2 separate regions of the Homo sapiens genome follow, and region 2 is linked to region 1. The links are contacts of gene promoters, found by promoter capture Hi-C in blood cells and fetal thymus (Javierre and others, 2016). All regions are on one chromosome and are shown on one strand. Each heading gives the region's core, a stretch centred on a gene start or on the middle of the fragment in contact. The rest is flanking DNA. Distances are from core to core; before and after follow the strand shown. Region 1 holds the start of PITPNM1 (phosphatidylinositol transfer protein membrane associated 1). Region 2 holds the start of KDM2A (lysine demethylase 2A).

Evidence for each region. The method cuts DNA at HindIII sites, captures the fragments that hold promoters and counts their contacts. A CHiCAGO score of 5 or more calls a contact.
Region 2: a contact is called between the fragment with the promoter of KDM2A here and the fragment with the promoter of PITPNM1 in region 1, in 2 of 17 cell types (neutrophils and activated CD4 T cells). The highest score is 5.8, in neutrophils.

Annotation. Positions count from the first base shown.
Region 1 is chr11:67,500,356-67,507,225 of GRCh38, forward strand. PITPNM1 (phosphatidylinositol transfer protein membrane associated 1) reads right to left here and starts at 5,008. Exons shown (of 24, transcript NM_004910.3): 1 at 4,833-5,008; 2 at 3,748-3,866; 3 at 2,149-2,363; 4 at 1,937-2,058; 5 at 1,507-1,731; 6 at 1-66. The coding sequence starts at 3,825. It overlaps CDK2AP2 (cyclin dependent kinase 2 associated protein 2), which reads right to left. Exons shown (of 4, transcript NM_005851.5): 4 at 6,142-6,657. The coding sequence ends at 6,590. RefSeq lists enhancers at 2,717-3,466, 3,467-4,216 and silencers at 3,995-4,094, 4,175-4,294, 4,305-4,464, 4,675-5,304. The HindIII fragment of the contact is 23,305 bases long and covers 1-6,870 here.
Region 2 is chr11:67,116,716-67,123,585 of GRCh38, forward strand. KDM2A (lysine demethylase 2A) reads left to right here and starts at 2,548. Exons shown (of 21, transcript NM_012308.3): 1 at 2,548-3,334; 2 at 4,519-4,643. The coding sequence starts at 4,602. It overlaps LOC107984341 (a long non-coding RNA gene), which reads right to left and starts at 1,633. Exons shown (of 2, transcript NR_160735.1): 1 at 519-1,633. RefSeq lists silencers at 1,455-1,504, 1,645-1,924, 2,105-2,544, 2,685-2,754, 2,935-3,074 and 2 more and an enhancer at 1,985-2,034. The HindIII fragment of the contact is 9,806 bases long and covers 219-6,870 here.

The sequences.
Region 1 (6,870 bases), core at 3,758-6,257:
GCTCTGTCCACTCATCCTGCCAGCACCAGGCCTGGCGGTGGGCCCGCAGCATCACCCGACGCAGACCTGCAGGTGCCCAGGCGTCAGAACTGCCCCCTCCCCCTGCTTCCCTGCCACCGCAGCTACATGCCCAGCCTTGAGGTTGGATAATGGCTCCCCTGGGGACACCACCCACCCAGAGCCACAAAGTAGGGCAGGGCCAGTGCAGTCCAGGAATGGGAGTGGAAAGTGGGGCATTTGTCTTCCTGCCTGACTCCCCCCCGCCCACTGCCTTTCCTGTCTCTCTGCACACCCTAACTCTCAGCACTGTCCCCACCCCATCACTCCAGAAGCAGGGACCAATGCTTGTTCTTGCTTTTGGCTGGCTTCCTGCTGACTTCTGAGGAATTAACAGTTAATTAAGGGTTTAACAGTTAATGAAATTGTTGATGGTTAATGAAGGTGTTAACAGTTAATGGAAGTGTTGGCACTCAATGAAGGTTGTAGCGAAAGATGATACCCATTCTGGGATATTTTTATCTTAAGCAGAAGAAAAAGTTAGAAACTCTTAAATGTCTAGGAAATAAAGTAATGATGGTTGAATGATAATTATAAACTTCTGCGAGGAGATATATTGGAATCTTAGTAGTGGCTATATTTTTCTTATTTGTGCTTTTTGGCATTTTTCCAAATGCAAGACAAGGCGTCCTCATTATTCTCTAAGCTGAATTTCCTCACCTGTAAAATGGGAATAATCATCGTCATTACCTGGTGGGGTGTTGTGGGTGTTAAGGGAGATCTTGCACAAAAAGTAATTAGCCATGGGTCTGTGTGTCGCAATCACTGTCAGTATTAGCTCTTCATATCTGACTCAACCTCTTCCTCATTTACTGAAGAGAAATTTAAAGTGCAGAGATGGCCAGTGCCTTGCTGGAGGTACCATGGGGTGGGGGTCAGTAGTGGGACAGAAGCCAGGCCGCTGGTCTCTCCAACTAGGGACCATCCCTCTGTGTGCAGATGACCTGGGCACTGAGGCAGGGCTGAATTGTAGGCGTGGTGGGGTCAGGTTGAGGGGAGGTGTGGGACTGGGGCTCCTGAACACCAGGGCCAAAGGCTGGAACACTAGAAACTGGGAGTGGAGGTGGGGAATCCCAGAGAGAATGACATCAGAGTCACAGCCTCAGCCTGCACTCCTTAGCATGCTGCCAGTTAGAGCCGGTGACCTTCCTGAGTGTCTCTAAGTCTCATCTAACTCATAGGATGATGGAGAATCTTAGAATCTTAATGGAAGCAGCAGCATTTCTGAATGTCAGAGCCAGTATGGACCTTGTAGATCATGTTACCAGCTTCCTGCTCTGTGGATGCCTGGCTAGGCTGTGCGGCCGCTTCTGCCCTAGTGCTCCCCACCTCAAATGGAAACGATGGCTTTCTGCTTCTGTGTCCCCAGTGGATGGGAGCATCCCTGGCCCTAAACATGGGGTCTGGGGCATGCTGGGTAAGTGGGACCTCCCGCAGCTGGGTGCTCACCTACATCATGGATGAACTGCTCGATCTTGGCTTGCATGCCCCAGTAGCGGAACTCAACCTTGCACAGCTTATAGGCACACATAAGGGGCCCCGTCTGTGCCGCCGTCCGTGCCCAGTCATCAGACAGTGGCCCTCGGCCCGTCTTGACCGAGTGATAAAGCCGGGGGTCCTCTTCTGCTTTGTACTCGCCTGGGGCCACTGCATCCCGCACGATGTCGATGGTGTCTGAGGGAGTTCGGCAAGCATTGAGCAGCGCCAGCCCCTTTGAGCCCCCGCTCCTGGCACCCTCTTGGGACTGGATGACAGTTCCCGTCCTTTTGCAGACAGGACATGAGGCCTGGAGAGGGCTGGGACTTCTCAGAGGCTGCCCACTGAGGCAGCCAGGAGCCTGAGAGGGGCGCCAGGGTCCCCCCATAGCTCCAGGCCTCACCCAGGATGCGCTGTCTCCTCTCGGCCCCGCTCAGGTTGAAGACGTTTGGCTGCTGCCCCCCATCAGGCAGGTAATAGGTCTCAATTTCAATGGAGAATTTCTCCACGAAAGGGCAGGTGTACCTGGGCAGAAGGCACGGGTGAGGCTCACTGCTGTACCCACCAGGGCCGCTCCCCTCCTGGCCTCGGACCATGCCCAGCTCACCCACTCACCGGGTTCGGGTGTAGGGGTAGGCATTCCAGGATTCCTCTTCTACCTGCAGGGCAGCCTTGGGCAGCAGTGCCCGGAACCAGCCTGGGATGTGGGAGCCCACGTGGTACACCTTGTGTGTGTATTGCCCGCTGCCCCCGGGCCCATCCGTGTAGGGCCGGTTGGCCAGGATCTCCACGCCGCTGCCCTCACCACTAGACTCCTCCCGGCTCTTTTTCTGTGGCCCAAGGGAGAGCAGGACAGGGAGCTCAGCCCCAGCTTAGCATCTGGGATCCCCAGCTCAGCCTGGTGTTCTACACAGCTCTGGGGCCCTGGTCCCAGCCTTTTCAACTCCCTGAAACCAGACCCCGCCCCACCAAAGCTCCCTGGGATCAGAATCACAGATGCAGCCCAGCCCCGCATGGGGTCTGCAACCCAGCACTCAGTTGAGTCATTCAAGTATTCATTGAGTGTCTGCTCCACTCCAGGCAGTGTTTGGGATTATATCAATTGAGATATATTGATGAATAGAACAAAGATCCCTGCCCTCGTGGAACTTACATTCTAGTGGAAGGAGACAGACAAAAGGAAAAAGCAAATTATGTGGTGTGTTAGAAGGCGCTAGGTGCTATAGGAAAAGAAAGCCTAGAGTAGGGTATAGGTGATGAGGGTTGGGGGCTGCAGTTTTGATCTGATAGTCAGGGAAGGCCTTGCTAATAACACAATGTGACCATGGCTTGAACATGACTTTAAGGAGGTGAGGTAGGAGGAGGTGCTCAAGGCCGGGGGAAGCCAGTGCAGCCCCAAGGTGGGAGCATACTGGATGTGCTGGCAGGTGGCAAGGAGGCCGGGGTGGCTGGCAAGGAAGAAGGGACTAGGAGAGGAAAAGGGGCCTCCAGCTCTCAGAGGCCCTGACCCTGGCCCCCTCCCTCTCTGGGAGGCCCTGGCCGCCTCCCAATCCCAGCTCCGCCACACCCCTCAGAGCTTGAGAGCCCCCAGATCCTGCCTTCTATTGCTCCGGGGCTCAGATGGCCCTTTCAAGCCCGAGGCGGGGTCCGGGCCCTCTTGCTTTATGAGATTCTGGTCCTGCTGTGCTGGGGACAGATCTGGAGCAGACTCCCCCAGGCCCCGCACCAACCCGGCCACTGCTGAGGGCCTGCCCTGGCCCACTCTTCTCACTGCCCTACACCAGAGCCTCCTCGCCCTCCCATCCTTGCTGCCCTGTCCCTGCTCCAGGTTTGACACCTGGTCCTCACCACATCTCCCTGACCTCCAGGGATGGCCAGGACCCTCCACTTCTCCAGACCCCCTCCCGCCTTCCTCTGCCGCGGAGGCCCCCCTCCTCATTCTTGCCGCCTCCTGGGCGCTTTTTCCTTCCCCGATGGGATTACAGATCCTGAGGAGGATTACAGGAGATCAGAGGAGGGCTGGGCACTTAGCGGATGGGAAGCACCACTCGGCCCTCCTGCCCCTCTTCCCACAGTCCTTCCCCATTCCCACATCTGAAGGGGGGCCTCTCTTGCCTCCTCCGGGCTCCCAGCCGGTCCCAGCCCCGGGGCAGGGCTGGCGGGGTCGGCAGGGCTCCACCCCTTGCCCGGGTGCCCTCTCCCCGCCGCCCTCACCTGGATCATGTAGAGCTGGGCCACCTGGTACTCGTCCAGGCTCATGGGCAGCAGAATGTGGTATTCCTTGATGAGCATCCTGAAGGCGCTCGGCGGGCCGCGCGCGGCCTCCGCTCCTCCTGGCGCAGGGCACGGCGCGACAGTCAGTGCGGGGAGGCTGCGCGCGGCCCCGAGCCCTGCGCGCCGGCCGAGGGACTCAGGCCACGGGACCCCATGTCCGGGCCCGCCACGAGGGAGGCAGAGGCGAGCCTAGCACCGCCGCCCGCGCCGCCGGGGCCGGGAGCCGCAGCGAGGCTGAGCGCTGACCTCTTTTCCGCGCAGCCCCCGCCCCCCGCCCGCCCGTCGCCATGGCAACCGCGCGCTGACGCGGGCCCCCCGGAGCGCCAGGCTCCGGCCGGCGGGCGGGAGGGCCACCTCACCTCTCCCGCTGCGACCGCGTCCTAACCCCGGGAAACGGCATCCCTCTGGGCGCGCCCCCGAAGCCCCGGGGCCCCTCCTTCCGGGCCCGCCTTCCGCGACCGGCCCCTCGGGGACCCGCCCCTTGCATCCCCTTCCCGGAGTCGGCGGGGTCCCAAGTCCCCCACTCTCGGACGTCCACCTAGAGCTTTGTTCCCCGAGTGTCTCTGCGCGGAGTGGCCCAGTGCGCCCAGCATCTCTGCCAGGGTTCCCCACGCCCTGCACCCGAACCTACCTTCCGGGACCGGTAATCTCCTCCGCCCTCCAGATCTGCCTTCTTGGGCAGCCGGGTCCTCGACCTCCCCCTCCCAGCATCCTTCCTGGACCCCTGGCCCTCGCCGGCTCTCCACGCGCCTAGGCAGCCACTCCGTCCTCTTCCCAGGGGGTGAGCCCTCCTCAGGCTGAGGCCAGAGTGGCTCCACTTGGTATCCCACGGGCCATGGCCCTGGAGACCCGCTCCGTCCACCTGCGCCCCAGACTGGCACCGAGGTTCCGCTGCAGGCACCCCTCCATCCCCCACTCGCACCCCGCGAGCAAGCGAGAGGCCCCGTTGTCCCCACTTCCCTCTGCTCGCCGGCGTCCCGGTCCCCTGCCGCGCTCTTGGCCCGCCTGCCGACGCCCCGGCTCACCTCTAGCTTGAGGCGGGCGCCCCTCACCCAGCCCGGGCAGGGCCGGCCGGCCCGTGGGTCGGAGCCCGGAGCGCCCCCAGCCCCGGCCTCGGGTTCCAGCGGTGGCCGGACCCTCCCGAGGCGCAGTGCCGGCCCATGGCCCCGACCTTCCTCTCGATCCGCCCGCCGGCGCCCCTGCAGTCCCTCCCCGACGCCCGCCGCGTCACTGCGGCCGCCCCGCCCCCTTCCTGGGCCCGGCTGGCCCTCCCCACCCCGGCGGGGTCCGGGCAGCCCCGCCTGCAGCGGAGGAGGCAGGGAGGGAGGCCCCTGCCTTCCTTCCCCCGGGCAGTGGGAAAAAGGCCATTGCCTAAATTCTGGCTCTTCCTAGTCCCTCTGTGCTGATTGGGGTCCCCAAAGACTCTTAGTTCCTATCTCCACCCTAGCCCAGCCCTCCTGTGTGCAGTCACAGGGTGGTTTGATATGGGGGGTCCCAGGCCCACTCTCCTCTTCTCACTCTCTGCAGTCCTTAGATTTGGGACCCAGGGTTGAGGAAATGCCTCCCCACCAGTCTAGCCAGAAGCTGGTGGCTCTGACATGCCTCCACCTAGGGCTGGGCTCGGCTCCAGGGCCCCAGGCCTCTATGGTCACCCAGCTACACGCCCAGGCAGAAACGGGCTGTCACTGTGAGTGGCTGGGCTAGCCCCTGCATGGTGCCACAAAGCCTCCCCCACCTCTGCCTTCCGGGTCCACAAGTCCGGTCACCCAGCCACCCGGAGTCTGGGCAAAGGCCTCACGAGGCACCCCAAGGCTGGGTTCATGGGATCCCACCCAGCCTGCTACAAGGTGCTGGGGCAGTGACGGCAGCACCCCGCCAGCCCCTCCCCTTGACACTGAGGCCAAGTGCTGGAAGCAGCAGTGCCCTTTCTCTCTGAGAAGTCAGAGACCTTCAGGGCTGATTCAGAGGCTGGGGTGTTGTCAGGGCATTAGGGCGTGTGAGGGAGTGGCTTACGTGAACTGGCATTTCCATGCTGCCAGGCATCACCGCCAATCCAGAGGAAGCGCCCTCCAGGCCCAGGCTGCCCACAGCGCCAAGGGCTGTGGAAGCAGCCAGGCCCTGTGCTGCCCCCTGGTGGCACCACAGGAAGGCCCAGGGCTCTCAGCGCCACGGCTGGGGCGGAGAGGGCCCAGGTCCCACCAAAGGCTGATGGCCTACAGAGGCAAGTCAAACCTCATTTAATCACACCCTCCCCATCCATAGTCTCCTCTTCCCCTGTCTCTGCCTGGCCCACCCAGGCTTAGCTGAAGAACCAGACCCAGAAAGGCTCAGAGCTGAGAGCACAACTCCAAATCATCTTTTATTAATATAAAAAGGGCATATTTAGCAAAAGACACACAGATAAAAGAGTCACTATGGCTCAGGACACAAGGCAGGGAGGTGCCAGGCCTGTGCCCCTGCTGGGGGAGAAGGAGGCTCGGGACAAAGTGGGAGAAGTGCTGGGAAGGGCTGAGCGGTAGGGGCCACAAAAGTTCCGGTGGGCAACACTGTCGGCAGGTCATGGGTGGGACTCATGGGGACCTCGCTGCTAACTCTTGTTGTGGGGGGGTGTCCTTAGTGCTGCCACCTGGAGGGCCACTCCTTGGTTCCTGGAGGGGACCCACCAAGGGACACAGGACAGGAAGCCCAGGATGGTTAGTGCAACTCGGGATGAAGGCCAGGGAGAAGCGGGTGCTCTGCAGTGGCCGGATAGGTCCAGACGCTGAGGCCGAGGCGCTTCCTGTTACGTGCGGGCGTTCCGCTCTGTCTCTGCCAGGCACTCTCTGACTAGGGCCCGGGCATGGATGATACCTGGGGGTGGGGTGGGGTCTCAGCAACCCTCCACAGCCCCACCCACTGCCCTCCAGAGGAGGACCCCTGCCTCCCCACTCCCTTTCCACTTTCGGCAAAAGAAATTCAAATCTAATGACGGCTAGATGAAATTAGAGGTTTGGTTAATCCTCAAGGTTGCCCTGTTGAAATACAAATTCCCATGCTCTTCCCTGGAAATGGACTCAATTTCAA
Region 2 (6,870 bases), core at 1,298-3,797, 390 kb before region 1:
ATCTGATTGCCAAGGGTGTGCAACTCACCTCCTTGAGGGTTAATTACTTAAGGGGGTCTGAATGTTAAGAAAAAGGGCAAGACCAAGTTGAGCTACTCCTAGAGACTTTCTCTTTGCCGCCAAGTATTCCCTGGGTTATAAGGGTGAGTGGGAAGGAAATAAAGCTGTTTATTTTGCAAATAGCAACAAGGCCCAACACTTAATCTGACAATGGCAAAAGCTTTCTCTCCTGCTTAAAAAACAAACAAAACGAGCTGCTGACTTTTTCTATAACTACAGAGAGCCAGATGCTTATGGGGCCATATCTGGTAGCACCAGTGTGAGAGACTGCTGCTTTTAAAATATACTTTACCATAGTCGGAAAGATTTAAAGAGGCTTTAGATCTGATACAGTTTCTGTGATTATCTTCTTCGTATCAGTGCTCTGAAAATCTAAGAAGTCTGAACAAAACTGGTATCAAAATAAAGAATATTTCCCAGTGACTAGAACGCAAGAAGATGATATCTTATTAACAAACCTTTTTTGCTGTTTGTGAGATGTTTCAGTCGGCTGTTGGAGTAATTATGCAAGCTCTTTAACCTTTCTATACTTCAGTTGTCTATCTTTAAAATGAATATAGCGCTAACAGGCACTTTAGCTTGTCTCCTAAGGATGTTGTGAAACAAAGCAGAGAATGTCTGTACAAACTCCCCAAGTTGTGCATGCAGAAAAACCTTCTGTGGTAATAAATAATAATACCTTGCATTTACGTAGCGCTTTTACCTTGGAGTTCAAGCCTTGATAGAATTAGAAGGTATCATTATTTTAATTGTCTCGCTAACGTCCTCCTGAAAGAGTTGATGGCTGTTTATGCAGGTTATATGATTCACTCCATGCCCTACCTCTCTGCTCCATTCCCTGCTTCCAGGAGTCAGAGCTTAAAGAGTGGGAAACCAAGGCAGGGAGAAAAAGATTTGTGTGACACCGCTCAGCAAGGGCGTAGTGGAGCCAATAGTGCCAACCCCGATGTGTAACGCCCCAGCCACCGTCCTTTGTGGGATTTAGAATTTAAACGGGCCCCAGAGCAAGAGATTGGCTGGGGAAATGCCCGGATCGCGGCTGGGCTGCTCGCATGGCACTGCTCGGGTACCTCCGGCCGGGCTCCGTCGACGTTCGGAGCCTGCTGGCCCGTCGGGCAGCTGTCGGGCCGCGGGAGTCGGTCCGTGGGCAGGGCCGGCGCAGCTCGGGCGGCTGCTGCCCCGTCGCTGACCCCCGCGCGAAGCTGCGCGCACCAACAGGAGACATCTTCCCGGCCGGGCCTCCCGCGCCCGCCACGGCCCAGGGCGGCAGGGTCGGGCCGGGGGCCGGGGGCGGCCCGCGCACCCCTCCGTGGGGGGCGCCCCGACTCGCCGGGGGCGGGGTCACGTCCCACCCGGGCCGCCGGGGGCACCGGCGCGGCGGAAAGCTGAGCGTGGCCGAGGAGCGGGGGCTTCCTGGGCCACCTCGCCGGGCGCCTCCGGCCGGCGGTGGGCGCGCCGGCCGCCACCGCCCCCGGGCCGTCGCGGAGACCGCTTCTGCGCCTGGTACCTGTGGACGCCCTTGTTAAGCGCCTGCAGCACCCCCGGGGAGCCGAGCCCAGGACAGACATGCTACTCCTGTTTCCTGCCCCTTCGGAGCGACGAGCAGTGGGTGAGGCGGGGCCAGGCCGCTGCACCGAGGAGCCCCCGGGCCCAGGGCAGACGGGCCCCGTGGCGGCGGCGCCGGGGCCTGCCCGGGAATGGCGGGCAAGCCGGCCTCGGCCCACCGGCCGGCACGCGAAGGGAGGGCAGCCGGCGGCCATGCGCCCCTTCCCTGCGCCCTCTCGCCCTGGGCAGGCCTGAGCCGGGAGCCCAGGTCCCGCGGGCCCAGCCCGGCGGCTTGACCCCGGGAGACCCTGCTTTGAGGCGGGTATCGGTTGCCCTGGCCCAGGCCTCCCGGCCCTCAGGTTGTGTGACTGTGACGGGCAGCCTGGGGCCAAAGGCGGTTGAAGGGGAAGGGGACGCAGATCTCCCACTGCTTGGGGGGGGTGATGTGCTTTGTGGGGGGTCGGGGGTCACCACCCTCCCAGGGGGGTGGGGGAGGGCGGCCAGCACAGCTGGCCGCGAGGGGCGGGGTCGCAGAGGCGAAGTGTGTGTGAGGGTGTGTGGGGGGAGGGCGCGCGGAGGAGGATCGGTGCCCTGCGCGCAGGCGCGAGCAGCCAGCCAGGCCCGAGCCCTGGAAGAACGCCGACGGGGAGCGGGGGCGGCGGGCTGGCGGGAGGGAGGGAGGGCGGGCGGCCTGACGCGAGGGGGCGCAGGGAGCCGCGTCGGCGTCGCGGGGCGCGGGCGATTCGAGGCCGACGCATCCGCGCGTGCGCGCGCCGGCGGTGTGTCCGCGTTAGAGGGGAGTGACGCGTGCGCGTTCACGCGCGCCCGGGAGAGCGGTAAGAAGCGCAGGGAGGCCTGAAGGGGGTGGGGGGGTGGAGAGGCGAGCTGGAGGAGGGGTGGGGAGGTGGCGCCTGCGCAGTGCGCCTCGGAGGAGCTGTGTGTATGTGAGAGTCTGACGGGTTCAAAATGGCGGCGGCTGCTTCAGCGGCTCCTCCTGTGTGAGGGAAACAACACCCCTCCCCGGCAGCGGCGGCGGCGGCGGCGGCTCTCGGAGCACCTTCCCAGCGGCTGGGCCCGTGGCCGCTCTGTCTTTCCTGGGCAGGGGACGCTCCGGGAGGAGGGGCAACGCCAGGGGGCCCATCCCCCGGAATCCCTCTTCTGCGACTGGGGAGTAGCCGGGGGGCTCGTCCCGCAGCGCGGAGCCAGACCTGAGGGGGAGACGCGAGGGGAGCCAGGGCCCCCATCCCGGCGCGCCGCGCCGCTCCCGCCCTGTCCGCCCCCCGGGGCCGGGGCCCGCGTTCCGGGGGGCCGGGGCGGCGCGGGGAGCCTCGGGCCGGCCGGTCTCAGCTGATCGGCCGCTGCTCCCGCAGGCGACCAGCCCCTGCTGGCCGAGGGCACGGCGAGGAGGGCGCTCCCTGCGGCCGGGGCCGGCCCGGGGCTCGGGCCCGGGCTGCTGACCGCTGGCCTGGGGGAGGCGGGGGCGCCCCGGGCTCGGCGCCGAGGGGTCGCGCTCCTCTCTCCTGACGCCTCCGACTCCCGGTCTCCAAAGCCAGAAGAGAAGGTTTGATTCAGCAACTGTTTGCTCCCTTTTCCTGGTCGCTCTGACCCTCTCTGGATACTGGGTTGATCCACGGAAAAACCGAAGACGACGTTTGGGATTTAATTATTCCTCTCAGCTTTGGAATCTTTTACTTCTCACTTGGACAAGAACTCAAGAGCAGAATCTCCGGTGAGTTTCCCCCTCCCCCCCCTCATTTGGAAGTTTGGTTGACTGTGTTATCCAAAGACTGAATGCAAAGTTTCTATCTCTTTTTCCGATGGGTGAACCATTGAAACGCCTTTTCCTGGGGGAGCCCAGCGAGATTCGCCCTTTTTCCTCTCCGGCCCTGGCTGCTCCATGCCCAGGCGGTCGTCGCCCAGGGGGTGCAAGCACGGTTTCCCTCCCGACTTCGGGCCAGGGCTTCCTCCGGGAGGGCTCTGCCTCTAACTGCTCTGCAAACTGTGTCATCGGGTCCTCTGGTCTCGTAGCAGTTTTGAAAGGATGCTGTTAACGTGGCTGTAATGTAGTGACAAAAACGGGGGGAACCTGTGTTCTCAATGGAAGCCATTATCCACGAGAATATTTAGAAAAAAGAAAACCCTTTCTTGGTATTACGGATTGACCGTCGCGCCGGCCGGTCTTTTATTTAATTTTTGGACAAGATGTATTTTCCTTGTATCCTTAGATGCAATCGTTTATTTTATTACTTTATCCAAAAAGATCAGATGGAATTTTGGTCCTTGATTTGCACCTCTGAAATTTGTTTCAGAGTTGTGCACATCTTGTGTTGGGGTGGAGGGTAGATTTGGGAATGATAAGATCCGGGGAGTCTAGAAAGGAAGGCGACGATTGTGCACGGCCTTACAGGAGGGGTATGGGAAATTGTTTTGGGGTCATTTAAATCCTAATTTTTTGTCCTCTTTTTACATAGTCAGTTTGCCCTTCTTTCCTTTAGTTTCTGATTACCGGTGAGAGAGAACTAATTTGGTTAGGATCTGGATTAGTTCAGTGGTGCTTCACCTGGTCAGCTCTCTGGAGATAAAAGTCCTGGGCTTTTTTTTTTTCTTGCTGATGCTGCCATGAAGGAGATCCTTGCTAGTTGTAATCCTGTGGGGAGAAACTGGTGGTGTGGCCCTTCCACAAGGAACTGAAACCAACATCTCGTTTCGTCTAGGCCTCCGACAGTTGTAATGTGATTAATGTTGAACATGACATGGAACCACTTGCCCAAGAGCAGAAAGGTCCCAAACTCATGAAGAGGAACCTGATTTTTCAGAGAGCCTTTAACACTTACCTTAAATACTCCTTTCCGTGAACAGAAAGCACAAGTTTGAGAATGAGTTCTCATTTCTGCTTATATCATTATTCTTTAGTGTTGCAATCTGGTTCCTAAGGAGGAAGAGGAAGGCAGCCCTGGAGTGGTTTCTTTACAGTAATTTCAACAGAAGAGTGAGAGATGGAACCCGAAGAAGAAAGGATTCGTTACAGCCAGAGATTGGTTAGTATTTTCTCCCCCCACCACACCCTCCAGTTTTAAAGTAGGATAACTATTTTGTTTCCAGTTGTGAATATACTGTGAATCTGTGATTAAAACTTTTCGGGTGACTTTTCTGTGCACCAGAGGAGGGGGAAAGGTGTATTAATATCGAATTTGGCTTTTGGCCAAACATGTTTTATATTTTATATATTTATCTTGTTTGGAAATGGAGTTATATGTAGCCTTTAGCTTTTATAGAAACCATTGTATACCAAAGGATTTTGTGGATTACAATGTGACAAAGATTCCTGATTTTACAGTACTGACATTGTAATACATCTGATTACGTTAGATTAGAATATAAATTTTGGGGGCAAAGCTGTTTGAGGAAGGATAGTTCAATACGTTTTTTAAGATTTTGTTGTCCCAGGATTTGTGACTTTGAGCGGGGAGAACTATGGATTATTTTCTTTTATTTTATAAATTAACATTTTGGTAGCTTTGAAGGGTTGTTGGGATTGATTGAAGACAAGTAGGTAGAATACTGGATGCTGATAAAGTTCTGTGTTTTGGGAGGAATGTACGAGATAGATCTTGTTGAAAGAAATTTTAGACATGATTTGAAAGGATTGGCTTATATCTGTATATGAACACTTGGATCCTTTAAGCCATGCTTTCCTCGTAAGGTTTCCCTATTGGAGTTTTAAGAATTCAATTTTTGTTTTTCTTAGCCAAAGAGAGCTTTATTAGTAGTCTCACAGTATTAATAAAAATCTGAATTTGTGTTTGAAGAGTGGGCTATGAGGAAAGCGACAGAATTGTATGTAGTATGTGAAATTTGCTGACCTGAAAGGCCTAGAAGATTACTAAAGGAATTTATGGTGGTTTTATTTGGCTCTGCATTTTAGACTGAATTTAGGAGAAAAAGAATGGTTCTCGAATACATTTTCTAGTGATCCTTACTCTTTTTGAGAAGAGACTTCTTTATTATTTATTTATTTTTATTGAGATTGAGTCTCACTCTGTCGCCCACGCTTGGAGTGCAGTGGCGTGATCTGAGCTCACCGCAGCCTCCACCTCCTGGGTTCAAGTGATCCTCCTGCCTCAGCCTTGCAAGTAGCTGGGACTGTAGGCATGTGCCACCACGTCCAGCTAATTTTTGTATTTTTAGTAGAGAACAGGGTTTTACCATGTTGGCCAGGATGATCTCGATCTGACCTCATGATCCACCCACCTTGGCCTCCCAAAGTGCTGGGATTACAGACGTGAGCCACCGCGCCTGGCCATGGCCTATTTTTTATTTATTTTTATTTATTTATTTATTTATTTATTTATTTATTTATTTATTTATTTTTTGAGACAGAGTCTGGCTCTGTTGCCCAGGCTGGAGTGCAGTGGCGCAATCTCTGCTCACTGCACGCTCCGCCTCCTGGGTTCACACCATTCTCCTGCCTCAGCCTCCCGAGTAGCTGGGACTATCGGCGCCCACCACTACGCCCAGCTAATTTTTTGTACTTTTAGTAGAGACGGGGTTTCACTGTGTTAGCCAGGATGGTCTCGATCTCCTGACCTTGTGATCTGCCCGCCTCGGCCACCCAAAGTGCTGGGATTACAGGTGTGAGCCACTGCATCTGGCCTTTTATTTTTATTTTTATAGACAGGATCTTGCTCTGCCCAGGGTGACGTTCAGTGATGTGATCATAACTCACTGTAGCCTCAAATTCCTGGGCTCAAGCAATCTTCCATTCCAGCCTCCTGAGTAGCTGGGACTACAGGCGTGTGCCACCATGCCAGGGTAATTTTCAGACTTTTTTTTTTCTTAGTGACGGGGTCTTGCTATGTTGCCCACCCTAGTCTTGAACTCCTGGCCTCAAGCGATCCTCCCACCTTGGCATCCCAAAGTGCTGGGATTAACAAGCGTGAGCCACAGTACCTGGCTTTTTTTTTTTTTTTTTTTTTTTTTTGTGACTGCTAGAAAGGTTTGGTGTGTATTGGGAAGTATATATTCAGCATGCATATATTCCGGTGAGCCTAATTTCAGAGATTTGTCTTGTTCCCAGTTCATGTGTTGAGATTATAATTCTTTATCTCTAACTTTGTAGAAATTAAGCATATCTGTAGTAGAATATTGTATCGTTGGGATTTATTTTTATTTTTACATTTCTTGAATTTAACTTTTCTTTGGGAACAGAAAAAGAGATGATGCCATAAAACTCCTTTCCCAGGTAGTTATTGCTATATGGAATTC